3 separate regions of the Homo sapiens genome follow, and regions 2 and 3 are each linked to region 1. Evidence: promoter capture Hi-C in human tissues and cell types (Jung and others, 2019). All regions are on one chromosome and are shown on one strand. Each heading gives the region's core, a stretch centred on a gene start or on the middle of the fragment in contact. The rest is flanking DNA. Distances are from core to core; before and after follow the strand shown.

Region 1 (4,519 bases), core at 1,074-3,573:
AGACTCCATCTCAAAAAAAAAAAAAAAAAAAGTACAGATTTCTGGGGTGCTACCTGAGAAATTCTAATCCAAGTAGGTCTTGATCAAAACCTGAAAATCATTTTTTTCAATACATCCAGGTAATTTTGGTCAATTCATTCAAGAAACATTTCTTGCATTCCTACTATGCACCAGGACAATTCTTAAGTGCTGGAAATATAGTTCTGAACAGGTTGGACAGGCTATAGTCTAGAGATAGAACAAACAGTGAACAAGTAAAGAAATAAATTACAATTGTGACACGCTACACACACAAAAAATAATAAACTGGCAAGAATAAAATAAGGATGGAGACCTACACTAGATAATCTACAAGAAGACCTCTCTTTGAGGAAGTGACTTGACCTGTCACCTGAGGAATAAGAAGGAGGAGCCTCCCAGCACTTTGGGAGGCCAAAGCGGGTGGATCATGAGGTCAGGAGTTCAAGACCAGCCTGGCCAAGATGGTGAAACCCTGTGTCTACTAAAAATACAAAAATTAGCTGGGCGTGGTGGCAGACACCTGTAATCCCAGCTACTCGGGAGGCTGAGGCAGAGAATTGCTTGAACCCAGGAGGTGGAGGTTGCAGTGAGCCGAGATCACACCACTGCACTCCAGCCTGGGTGACAGAGTGAGACTCCAACTCAAAGTAAAAAAAAAAAGAAGGAGGAGCCATGTGACAGCCAGGGAAAAACAGCCGAGGCAGAGGGAACAGCCAATGCAAAGACTTGGTTGAGAATTCAGTAGATGAATCTAATCTTTTAGTTACTCCCATTTTATTAATCCATCAAAATGAGAAAGAAGGCATGGCGGAGAATGTACTATTTCATCTTTGTGTGTTCACCCAGCAAGCTATACTAAGCACCTCCCTTGTACCAGGAACTGTGCCAGATGCTGACACAAAGATGAGCCAGATGACCCCTTCTCTCGGGGAGTGTGCAGTCCAATGAGGGAGGCAGATAACAAAATAAGTATGGCTCATGAGATAAGTGAGAATCTCCCAGGCAATCAGCTTATATTCTGAGAAAGCCAAGAAGATGATTAATAGTTTCAAGTATGATGATGTGAGCAATTGCTTTTGACACTGCATGATCAAATTATTTTCATTTCTTTGTGGTCCTGCAGCTCAGAATACCTGGATTTTTGGTGAAATATTAGCAAGGGATATCAAGTTTAGGATACTGTATAATGCACTATATGTTTCAGAATATAAGGAGAAATAGTATGCTAATAATAGCTAATATTTATTGAGCACATGGATTGACCTGGATAATGTACCATCTCATAGAAGAGTCACTACGACTTTATGAGGCAGGGACTATTATTTCCCCTTTTTCAGATGGAGAAATAGGGGCTTAGCAAGATGAAGGGGCTTTCCTGAAGTGACAATTTCCTAGTTCTGTCTGGATTCAAGCTTCAGTTCTGGTCCATACGGCCCTCTCATGAATAGCTTAGACACTGATACAATTGCTTTTCTCACACTAGTCCCCAAAGTGGATACCTTGTTCTTCTTCCCAGCCCACTCATCCATCTAGGTTGCCTAGGCCAGCCTGATCTACCTGCATTTCTCCCCAGGGGTCCTGCAGGTGGAAAAGTGGAAAGAAGAATTCCTTGTTTCCACACTGGGGAGGGCACCTGGACGGGCATGGACCGGGCAGTGCCCACTGACTGACTATACTGGACTCCAGTCTCTTGAGCCCCAAGTAGAATGTGGAAAGCTTTGAGGCCAAAGCTGGGCACCTGGTTCCCACCCCACCTGGGGGAGGGGGTCGGGGGGAGGAGAAATTCCTGGGGCTCAGTGTTCAAGGTCTGAGGCACAGGAGACAAATCAAATGCCCAGGCACCAGACAGTTAAGGTAAAACGTTGAAGTCAAGAGGAAGTAGTGAGTCTGTTGCCAACTGGATAGGGTTGGTCCTGTCCCATCTAAATGTATTAGAATTAAGTGGCTTTTAAAAATGAGCTGGTCATCTTCAGCCCACGGGCTGGCCAATTTGGAACTTAATGGGCCTTTGCGTCCTCCTTCCCTGAGCCTCCTTTTATTCCAGACTTCTCAGTGTGAGTCTGTGCGTCCCTCCGACGATCTCAGGGAGTGGGGTGCCTTCATCTGCCTGTTCCCTGTTCCTCAGGCTGACGCTCCCGCTGTCCTCCCCGCCTCCCCTCACTCCTTTTCTCCCTCCCTTCCTCCTTGTGGGGAGGCTCTTGGCCAGGGTCCCTGAGCCCGGGCGGGTGCTGGCAGAGGACGCAGAAGGGGTGAGGTCACGTCTCCCTTGAGCCCCGAGCCGCTGGCTTTTCAGAGCCTCGCCACAAGCCGGCGGCCAGAGCCCCAGACCACACAGACCGTGCGCTCCTCCGCCCTCCCGGCGCCGCCGGCCTCGCCCATGTCTCAGTACGCCCCTAGCCCGGACTTCAAGAGGGCTTTGGACAGCAGTCCCGAGGCCAACACTGAAGATGACAAGACCGAGGAGGACGTGCCCATGCCCAAGAACTACCTGTGGCTCACCATCGTCTCGTGTTTTTGCCCTGCGTACCCCATCAACATCGTGGCTTTGGTCTTTTCCATCATGGTGAGTGAATCACGGCCAGAGGCAGCCTGGGAGGAGAGACCCGGGCGGCTTTGAGCCCCTGCAGGGGAGTCCGCGCGCTCTCTGCGGCTCCCTTCCTCACGGCCCGGCCCGCGCTAGGTGTTCTTTGTCCTCGCACCTCCTCCTCACCTTTCTCGGGCTCTCAGAGCTCTCCCCGCAATCATCAGCACCTCCTCTGCACTCCTCGTGGTACTCAGAGCCCTGATCAAGCTTCCCCCAGGCTAGCTTTCCTCTTCTTTCCAGCTCCCAGGGTGCGTTTCCTCTCCAACCCGGGGAAGTTCTTCCGTGGACTTTGCTGACTCCTCTGACCTTCCTAGGCACTTGCCCGGGGCTTCTCAACCCTCTTTTCTAGAGCCCCAGTGCGCGCCACCCTAGCGAGCGCAGTAAGCTCATACCCCGAGCATGCAGGCTCTACGTTCCTTTCCCTGCCGCTCCGGGGGCTCCTGCTCTCCAGCGCCCAGGACTGTCTCTATCTCAGCCTGTGCTCCCTTCTCTCTTTGCTGCGCCCAAGGGCACCGCTTCCGCCACTCTCCGGGGGGTCCCCAGGCGATTCCTGATGCCCCCTCCTTGATCCCGTTTCCGCGCTTTGGCACGGCACGCTCTGTCCAGGCAACAGTTTCCTCTCGCTTCTTCCTACACCCAACTTCCTCTCCTTGCCTCCCTCCGGCGCCCCCTTTTTAACGCGCCCGAGGCTGGCTCACACCCACTACCTCTTTAGGCCTTTCTTAGGCTCCCCGTGTGCCCCCCTCACCAGCAAAGTGGGTGCGCCTCTCTTACTCTTTCTACCCAGCGCGTCGTAGTTCCTCCCCGTTTGCTGCGCACTGGCCCTAACCTCTCTTCTCTTGGTGTCCCCCAGAGCTCCCAGGCGCCCCTCCACCGCTCTGTCCTGCGCCCGGGGCTCTCCCGGGAATGAACTAGGGGATTCCACGCAACGTGCGGCTCCGCCCGCCCTCTGCGCTCAGACCTCCCGAGCTGCCCGCCTCTCTAGGAGTGGCCGCTGGGGCCTCTAGTCCGCCCTTCCGGAGCTCAGCTCCCTAGCCCTCTTCAACCCTGGTAGGAACACCCGAGCGAACCCCACCAGGAGGGCGACGAGCGCCTGCTAGGCCCTCGCCTTATTGACTGCAGCAGCTGGCCCGGGGGTGGCGGCGGGGTGAGGTTCGTACCGGCACTGTCCCGGGACAACCCTTGCAGTTGCGCTCCCTCCCCCACCGGCTCACCTCGCCTGCAGCTGGGCCACGGAACTCCCCGGCCACAGACGCAGAGCCCTGATTCAGCGCTGTGAAAATCGCTAGCCACCCGTCCCCCATCAAGTCCGCCCACACTTGCCCACGGGTGGTGGCACCATATTCGATTCGTGGGCACCTGCAAGGCTCCATTTGCACCCGTAACTTGCCCTTTCCCAAACCCGGTTTGTGGACAGCGTCTGCACCGATATGAAAGCGTGCAGCCGCTGAAGTTCAGACAAGTCTGTATTCAAATCCCAATTCTCCCACTTTCTAGCTGTGTGATCTCTGAAGTCACTGCATCTCTGAACCTCAGTCTCTTTGTAAAACCAGAATAATCATAGCCATGTTTCTTGGGGTTGTTGGGAGCATTCATGACATAAATAATTGTAAAGTGCTTAGAACAGTGACCAGCACGGTATCTTTACAAAATCTTTACTCAAATGTCACTTCATGAGGCCTTCTGTGATTACTGTTTAAAATCAGGACCCCCATCCACCCACCCCGCGCAAGCTCTGTTCTTCCTTCCCTGCTACCTTTTGACCAAATTACTTCTCTCCATCTGATATAGTATTTTAATTATTTGTATGTTTACAGTCTGTGTCCCTCTCATTAGAATATAAGCTCCATAAGGGCAGGAATATTTGTTGGTTCCTGTATCTTCAGCATCTAGAAGAAAATGTGGCACGTGGTA
Region 2 (4,519 bases), core at 564-3,063, 56 kb before region 1:
GACTAGAATTGCAACCCCTCCATTTTTTGCTTTCCATTTGCTTGGTACATCTTCCTCCATCCCTTTATTTTGAGCCTATGTGTGTCTCTGCACGTGAGATGGGTCTACTGAATACAGCATAGTGATGGATCTTGACTCTTCATCCAATTTGCCAGTCTGTGTCTTTTAATTGGGGTATTTAGCCCATTTACGTTTAAGGTTAATATTGCTATGTGTGAATTTGATCCCGTCATTATGATGTTAGCTGGTTATTTTGCCCATTAGCTGATGCAGTTTCTTCCTAGCATCGATGGTCTTTACAATTTGGCATGTTTTTGCAGTGGCTGGTACCGGTTGTTCCTTTTTATGTTTAGTGCTTCCTTCAGGCACTGTTGTAAGGCAGGCCTGGTGGTGACAAAAATCTCTCACCATTTGCTTGTCTGTAAAGGATTTTATTTCTCCTTCACTTATGAAGCTTAGTTTGGCTGGATATGAAATTCTGGGTTGAAAATCCTTTTCTTTAAGAATGCTGAATATTGGCCCTTACTCTCTTCTGGCTTGTAGAGTTTCTGCTGAGAGATCCACTGTTAGTCTGATGGGCTTCCTTTGTGGGTAACCTGAACTTTCTGACTGCCCTTAACATTTTTTCCTTCATTTCAACCTTGGTAAATCTGACAATTATGTGTCTTGGGCTTGCTCTTCTCAAGGAGTATCTTTGTGGTGTTCTCTGTATTTTGTGAATTTGAATGTTGGCCTGCCTTGCTCGGTTGGGGAAGTTCTCCTGGATAATATCCTGCAGAATATTTTCCAACTTGGTTCCATTCTCCCCATCACTTTCAGGTACACCAATCAAACATAGTTTTGGTCTTTTCACATAGTCCCATATGTCTTGGAGGCTTTGTTCATTTCTTTTTACTCTTTTCTCTAAACTTCTCTTCTCACTTTATTTCATTAATTTGATCTTCAACCACTGATACCCTTTCTTCCACTAGATTGAATCGGCTACTGAAGCTTGTGAATTCTTCACGTAGTTCTTGTGCCTTGGTTTTCAGCTCCATCAGGTCATTTAAGGTCTTCTCTTCACTGTTTATTCTAGTTCGCCATTCGTCTAATCTTTTTTCAAGGTTTTTAGCTTCCTTGCAATGGGTTCAAACATCCTCCTTTAGCTTGGAGAAGTTTGTTATTACCGACCTTCTGAAGCCTACTTCTGTCAGCTCGTCAAAGTCATTCTCCATCCCGCTTTGTTCCATTGCTGGCAAGGAGTTGCGATCCTTTGGAGGAGAAGAGGTGCTCCAGTTTTTAGAATTTTCAGCTTTTCTGCTCTGGTTTCTCCCCACCTTTGTGGTTTTATCTACCTTTGGTCTTTGTTGGTGGTGACCTACAGATGGGGTTTTGGTGTGGATGTCCTTTTTGTTGATGTTGATGCTATTCCTTTCTGTTTGTTAGTTTTCCGTCTCACAGTCAGGTCTCTCAGCTGCAGGTCTGTTGGAGTTTGCTGGAGGTCCACTCCAGACCCTGTTTGCCTGGGTATCACCAGCGGAGGCTGTAGAACAGCAAATATTGCTGCTAGATCCTTCCTCTGGAAGCTTCGTCCCAAAGGGGCGCCCGCCTGTATGAGGTGTCAGTTGGCCCCTACTGGGAGGTGTCTCCCAGTGAAGCTACATGGGGGTCAGGGACCCACTTGAGGAGGCAGTCTGTCTGTTCTCAGAGCTCAAACATCATGCTGGGAGAACCAGTACTCTCTTCAGAGCTGTCAGACAGGGACGTTTAAGTCTGCAGAAGTATCTGCTGCCTTTTGTTCAGCTATGCCCTGCCCCCAGAGGTGGAATCTACAGAGGCAACAGGCCTTGCTGAGCTGTGGTGGACTCCACCCAGTTCGAGCTTCCACGGCCACTTTGTTTACCTACTCAAGCCTCAGCAATGGCGGATGCCCCTCCCCCTGCCAGGCTGCTGCCTCACAGGTTGATCTCAGACTGCTGCACTAGCAGTGAGCAATGCTCCATGGGCATGGGACCTGCCGAGCCAGGCGCATATAATTTCCTGGTGTGCCATTTCCTAAGACCATTGGAAAAGCACAGTATTTGGGCAGAAGTGTCCTGATTTTCCAGGTACAGTCTGTCCCGGCTTCCCTTGGCTAGGAAAGGGAAAACCCCCAACCCCTTGCACTTCCTGGGTGAGGCGATACCCTGCCCTGTTTCGGCTTGCCCTCCATGGGCTGCACCCACTTTCCAACCAGTCCCAATGAGATGAACCAGGTACCTCAGTTGGAAATGCAGAAATCACCTGTCTTCTGCATCGATCATGCTGGGAGCTGCAGACTGGAGCTGTTCCTATTCGGCCATCTTGGAACAGACTCCTAAACTGGTTATTCTAGTTAGCAATTCCTCTAACCTTTTTTAGAGGTTCTTGGCTTCCTTGCATTGGGTTAGAACATGCTCCTTTAGCTCAGAGGAGTTTGTTATCATCCATCTTCTGAAGCCTACTTCTGTCAATTTGTCAAACTCATTCTCTGCCCAGTTTTGTTCCCTTGCTGGTGAGGAACTGTGATCCTTTGGAGGAGAAGAAGCGTTCTGGTTTTGGGAATTTTCAGCCTTTTTGTGCTGGTTTTTCCTCATCTTCATGGATTTATCTACTTTTGGTCTCTGATGTTGGTGACCATCACATGGGGTTTTTGTGTGGATGTGCTTTTTGTTGATGTTGATGCTATTCCTTTCTGTTTGTTAGTTTTCCTTCTAACAGTCAGCCCCCTCTGCTTCAGGTCTGCTGGAGTTTGCTGGAGGTCCACTCCAGACCCTGTTTTCCTGGGTATCACCAGTGGAGGCTGCAGAACAGCAAAGATTGCTGCCTGTTCCTTCCTCTGGAAGCTTCATCTCAGAGGGGCACCAGCCTGATGCCAGCCAGAGCTCTCCCATATGAGGTGTCTGTCAACCCCTCCTGGGAGGTGTCTCCCAGTCAGGAGACATGGCGGTCAGGGACCCACTTGAGGCAGTCTGTCCTTTAGCAGAGCTTGAGCGCTGTGCTGGGAGATCCACTGCTCTCTTCAGAGCCGGCAGGCAGGAATGTTTAAGTCTGCTGAAGCTGCACCCACAACCGCCCCTTCTCCCAGGTGCTCTGTCCCAGGGAGATGGGAGTTTTATCTATAAGTCCCTGACTGGGGCTGCTGCCTTTCTTTCAGAGATGCCCTGCCCAGAAAGGAGGAATCTAGAGAGGCAGTTTGGCTACAGTGGCTTTGCTGTGGGCTCTGCCCAGTTTGAACTTTCTGGTGGCTTTGTTTACACTGTGAGGGGAAAACTGCCTACCCAAACCTCCATAATGGCGGACGTCCCTCCCCCCACCAAACTCCAACAACCCACGTCGACTTCAGACTGCTGTGCTGGCGGCAGGAATTTCAAGCCAGTGGATCTTAGCTTGCTGGGCTCCGTGGAAGTGGGATCCAGTGAGCTAGACCACTTGGCTCCCTGGCTTCAGCCCCCTTTCCAGGGGAGTGGCAGTTGTCTCTCACTGGCATTCCAGGTGCCACAGGGGTATAAGAAAAAAACTCCTGCAGCTAGCTTGGTGTCTGCCCAAATGGCCACCCAGTTTTGTGCTTAAAACCCAGGGTCCTGGTTGTGTAGGCACCCAAGGGAATCTCCTGGTCTGCGGGTTGTGGAGACCATGGGAAAAGCGTAGTATCTGGGCCAGAATGCACTGTTCCTCACAGCACAGTCCCTCACAGCTTCCCTTGGCTAGGGGAGAGAATTATCTGACCCCTTGTGCTTCCTGGGTGAGGCAACACCCCACCCTGCTTCAGCTTGCCCTCTGTGCTGCACCCACTGTCTAACCAGTCCCAATGAGATGAGCCAGGTACCTCAGCTGGAAATGCAGAAATCACCCACCTTCTGTGTTGATCTCACTGGGAGCTGCAGACTGGAGCTGTTCCTATTCAGCCGTCTTGCTAGCCACCCAACATCACAGAATTTCTAATAATCTGGATGTGGGGGTCTACATGAAACTCTTCCTTTTGTGTGTCTTAAACCCTTTCCAGGAAATTAAGCCCATAGCTGTCATCAATTCTGAAACGGATTTACAAACCAAAAACGTTTAACAACAAATGACTGTTTGAAAAGATATTAAGGAGTAGAAAAGAAAGAAAAATGCAGATAGCTGGGACTTCCTGTCCTCCCCAAATTTCCTTGCATCGATAGCAACAAGAAGGGGCTTAACATTAGCCTGCTGAGCCAGGAAGCTGGAAAGGGGTCCTCTTCACCAAAGGACCACCCCAATCTGATGCTCCAAGATTATGAATGCCCAAATGGTATTCCTGGGGCCACCAGTCTCAGTCACAAATCTTCCAGGATCTTGAGGGGAGGGAGAGAAGGTGGAGTCTACTTTTCAGAGCAAATTCTGAGATTGCCACTATGTCTGCCTCACAGTTTGTGCGAGAACACATCATCCATATGCCTCAAGAGGATTACATCAGCTGGCTGCAGAGCCGGATCAACATACCCATTGGGCCCTACAGCGCCCTGAGGTAGGCTGGGCCTGGGTTGACCAGCTGTCT
Region 3 (4,519 bases), core at 1,144-3,643, 38 kb before region 1:
TTGCAGAAAACTCACCAATGAAGAACAGCAGACAGGTGAACAGGCTGGCCAGGAAGTGGGTCAGATGGTAATACATTTAGTCTTCTTTTCCTCTAGGGCTTCAGTTTCCCCATCTGTAAAATCAGAGAGCTAGATTATGAGGGTCCCAAATCTACATTTCAACCAAGACCAGGCAAGTAATACGAATGAATGGAAGGAATGGGGTCTAATATTATGTGCCGAATATTTGACAGGCACTGAGAGAGAAAGGTACTGGGAGCAGAAAGGGAGACAAGCCATGATCCTTGCTCTGGTGAAGCACTTGGCCTTGTGAGAGATGTGAGCACATAGGCAGCTACCGACAAATATGATAAAAGCTGTATTCAAGGTTCCATATGAATGCACAGGAGGGTTGGACTAATCCATCCCAGATGAATCCTCAAAGATTTTTTAAATAAACGAGAAGGCATCTGGGGGGAAGAGGAGTGTTGTAGGTGAAGAAGTGGAAAGAACAAGAGAACAGGAACGACCTTTCAGGTGGAGAAAACCGCCTGTGCAAAGTCACAGTGACCTGAAAAACAATTACGTATTCGGGGAGAAAAATGAAGTTTGATAGGGCTGGAAGGTCCCTATGTGAAGTTACAGAAAAATAACCTAAAAGGGTGAGTTGGAAATAAATCACAAAGAACCTTGAGGAATTTGTCTTGAGAGTAATAGGAAGCCAGGAATATGTTCTAAATTGTTGAGAAAACTGGTGACATTTCCATTTTAGAAAGTTTGGTCTGTCTGCAGGGTGGAGAATGGGTTAGAGCTGCACCATCTAATATGAGGGTCATTAGCCACGTGTGGCTACTGACCACTGGACACATGGCCATTCCAAATTGAGATGTGCTATGTAACTAAAAATAAAATCTTAAGCCCCCTGCCCCACTGACAGAACAGACCCCCTCTTGGCCAAAGAGACCCCCAGAAAAACCTTAAAAACTGAGTTCACGACAATGACAAGAACCGGAGGTCCAACACACCTCGTTATACCCCCTCTTTTGTGTAGTTTACAGACAACTGACCAGCGTTAATGTTAAAATAGAGATCACAAGACCGACAAAATGAACTCTTCGTAGTAATAAGATACCAAGTTATAAACAGGGCCTAAGGCCATGCCAGGAAAGGGTTAAGTCACACACTCCTTCACTTAAAGAATAAACTATATTCTAACTGCCACAAGGTTTTTCTTTTTCTCTAGCAGCTAAACAAGTGCTGGCCTTGAGATAAGCAGTGTTAAAACAACTGCAACGAACCAACCACCAGACACTGACTAACTGATCCTCCCCCGCACCGTTCCCTTTCCACCAGCCATAACTACAGCTTTGATTAGGCAAGAAATTGATTTCAATAACTTTCTCCTAATAAAAAAGACCACTGACCATGGACTGATTCTGGCCAGTTTACAGAGGCTGTGCACATGAGTGCCTTCGTTCTAAAAAGACCTTTTGACATATAGGATCTAATTATAATACATTTAAATATCAAGCCCCACCCCAAGGTGGGGTGATATGTCACATGTCACATGCATATTTGTTCAATACACGTGTCATAACTACCTTCATAAATATTCATAACTCCTCTCGTAACCTGTTGAATACGCATACTTGGCCACCCCAGTGAGCTAAAATTCCTGTCCAACCCCTCCTCCTCCTGGCCAGGCCCAGTGGCTCACGCCTGTAATCCCAGCACTTTGGGAGGCCAAGGTGGGCAGATCATGAGGTCAGGAGATCGAGGCTATCCTGGCCAACAAGGTGAAACCCCGTCTCTACTAAAAATACAAAAATTAGCCAGGCGTGGTGGCGGGCACCTGTAGTCCCAGCTATTAGGGAGGCTGAGGCAGGAGAATGGCATGAACCCGGGAGGTGAAGCTTGCAGTGAGCCGAGATCACGCCACTGCACTTCAGCCTGGGCAACAAAGCGAGACTCCATCTCAAAAAAAAAAAAAAAAAAAAAAAAAAAACCAACCCCACCTCCTTCAAAATGCCTGCTAATGACTTTGGCCAGAAGTATGGTTCCCAGCCTGTGGGATGGCCACCTTGTAGACTGTAACCCTTTTTAAAAAAATAAAGTCTCTTTATCTAAATGCATGGATTTTGTGATTTTTCAACAACTATAAGTATAAAATACACACGGGACTTTGAACACTGAGTATGAAAAAAGGAATGTAGACTATCTCGTTAATATTGTTTAATATTGATTATGTGTCAAAAGGATATTTGGAATATATTGGGTTAAATAAAATATGGTATTAAAATTAATTTATCCTGCTTTTTACTTGTTTAATGTGGCCAGTGGAAAATTTAAAATTACATATGTGGCTTGCATTATAATTCCATTGGACAGAGCTGAGTTAGAGAGCCTGAGACTCAAGAAAGAAGACCAATGAGGAGACTTCGAAATGTCCAGGAGACATTATGAGAGCATGGGAGTTTGAACCAGACAGTGGGATGGGGACAGAGAATAAGAATAAGAATACGCAAACTTCTCAATGACAGATTGGATAAAGAAAATGTGGTACATATACACCACAGCATACTATGCAGTCATAAAAAAGAATGAGATTATGTCTTTTGCAGGAACATAGATGGAGCTGGAGGCCCATTATCCTTGGCAAACTAACACAGAAACAGAAAACCAAATACTGCATGTTCTCACTGATAAGTGGGAGCTGAATGACGAGAACTCGTAGACACAAAGAAGAGAACCACAGACACTGGAGCCTACCTGAGGATGGAGGGTGGGAGGAGGGAGAGGAGCAGAAAAAATAACTATTGGGTACTTAATACCTGGGTGATGAAATAACCTGTACCACAAACCCCCGAGACACAAGTTTACCTATTAATGTACAACAAACCTGCACATGTACCCCTGAACCTAAAATAAAAATTAAAAAAAAAAATTTGGGAAATAGTAGGAAAAAAATTAAAACCAGAAGACTACATATAATAGCATGATCTCATTTTTATAAAACAAGAATAAGCAAGAGTAAAACACATGCTGTGTAGGTATGACTTTATATATGCAAAGCAGTGATACACTCCCAAACTCAGGATAACAATGACCTCTGTGGAGGGGACCTGGGGCCCTGGACTGGGAAAGAGCATCAGGTGTATGCCTTATTGGCAATGCCCTAGTTCTTTGGTTGACGGGGCCACAGATTTTCATTATACAATTAATCTGTATAACGTAAACACATGTGGTGTGTGTGTGTGTGTGTGTAAACAAATACTTTTAAGATAAATTTTTTCAAATAAAAAGAATATGCGGGCCTCTGGTTACAGGTTTTGGTGATTAAAGGCATGAATTCTGGGACCATACAGCCTGGTTCAACACTTGGCTCTGACATCTGTCAGCTGTGTGACCTTGGGCAAGTCACTTACTTAATCTGTCTCTTGTGCCTGAGTTTCCTCACTTATGCAACATGAGTAGTAGCAGCACCTGTTTTATAAGGTGTTATGAAGATTAAATGAGTTCATTCCCTGATTCTCACAGTTGACTACATATGTGAGTCACCTGGGGAGTGTTTAAAACTCAAATTAGGGGAGCCTGATTTCATTGGTGTAGGGTGTGGCCTAAGCATAGGGACTATTTTAAATTACCCACGTGATTCTAATGTGCAGGAGAGTTCATGAACCACTGTATTAGTATATGTAGATGCTTGAAAGAGTGTCTGACACAGTGTAACCATGATTTAAGTATTTGAAGTTATTATATTTTTAGTGTCTTTAAAATGCATAATATATTTAAAATCCACAATTGAGAGTCTACTATGTGCCACTAAATGCCACTGCAGGGACGGAATATTTCTTAAATGAATTCACAGAGCTCACAGGAAAGGTTTCAACACGTCCTCTCCAGTGAGCACAGGTGGGCCAATTGGAGATCAAGTTCAGATCTGGCAGCTCATTCAGCAATTCCAACTTTTTGAAGTCTCGGTTGGTGAAATATTACAGACCATTTCCCAAAACACTTAACTCCAACAACAAGGTTTTAGTGTTTGGCAACATACAAGCAGAATGCCATTAAGTCTTGGAACTGTGTACTGAGTGTCTATCAGCTGGAGCCAAAGGGGAATGTAGTGAAGTGAGGCTCCTTTCAGAGTATGGAACAAGCCCATCTGTGTCTCAGACCCCCATAGTGGAAACACCTTAATGAGAACTGGCTAACGGTGGTGAGAACTCCTTGTCATCAATGAAGGAGGCATGTCTGGGCCTTACAAGGACATTAAGCAAAGAGGTACTAAAGTCATGAAAAAAAAAATGGCCCTTCTGTCTTGGATAGAGCCTAAAGAAAAATCAGAGCCATCTCTATTCTTATTTGATAGACTTATGTTCTCATTCACATCGTCTCCAGGCTCTATGAATGCTAATTCCAATAGTAATCATTGTTAACATTTATTGGGTGTGTGTTATGTGCCAGGAACCATCATAAGCATTTTATATGCATCAAATTTTTAAAATATGAGGAAGGGGTCATTATCAATACTTTATAATGA

What was found. Contacts are between HindIII fragments. The study calls those that stand out against the background at their distance.
Region 2: a fragment that was not itself captured here is called in contact with the fragment with the promoter of TMEM233 in region 1 in 2 of the 25 tissues and cell types used here (dorsolateral prefrontal cortex and spleen).
Region 3: a fragment that was not itself captured here is called in contact with the fragment with the promoter of TMEM233 in region 1 in 1 of the 25 tissues and cell types used here (spleen).

Annotation. Positions count from the first base shown.
Region 1 is chr12:119,591,451-119,595,969 of GRCh38, forward strand. TMEM233 (transmembrane protein 233) reads left to right here and starts at 2,324. Exons shown (of 3, transcript NM_001136534.3): 1 at 2,324-2,584. The coding sequence starts at 2,399. All of the region lies in intron 1 of PRKAB1-AS1 (PRKAB1, TMEM233 and CCDC60 antisense RNA 1), which reads right to left. RefSeq lists an enhancer at 2,312-2,885. The HindIII fragment of the contact is 2,865 bases long and covers 1,586-4,450 here.
Region 2 is chr12:119,536,223-119,540,741 of GRCh38, forward strand. CCDC60 (coiled-coil domain containing 60) reads left to right here. Exons shown (of 14, transcript NM_178499.5): 14 at 4,392-4,519. The coding sequence ends at 4,493. The region is part of intron 2 of PRKAB1-AS1 (PRKAB1, TMEM233 and CCDC60 antisense RNA 1); the gene reads right to left. Among named protein-coding and RNA genes, the nearest start is that of TMEM233, 55 kb to the right of the region's middle. The HindIII fragment of the contact is 4,608 bases long and covers 1-4,117 here.
Region 3 is chr12:119,553,533-119,558,051 of GRCh38, forward strand. It overlaps PRKAB1-AS1 (PRKAB1, TMEM233 and CCDC60 antisense RNA 1), which reads right to left. Exons shown (of 3, transcript NR_188494.1): 2 at 16-113. Among named protein-coding and RNA genes, the nearest start is that of TMEM233, 38 kb to the right of the region's middle. The HindIII fragment of the contact is 3,709 bases long and covers 540-4,248 here.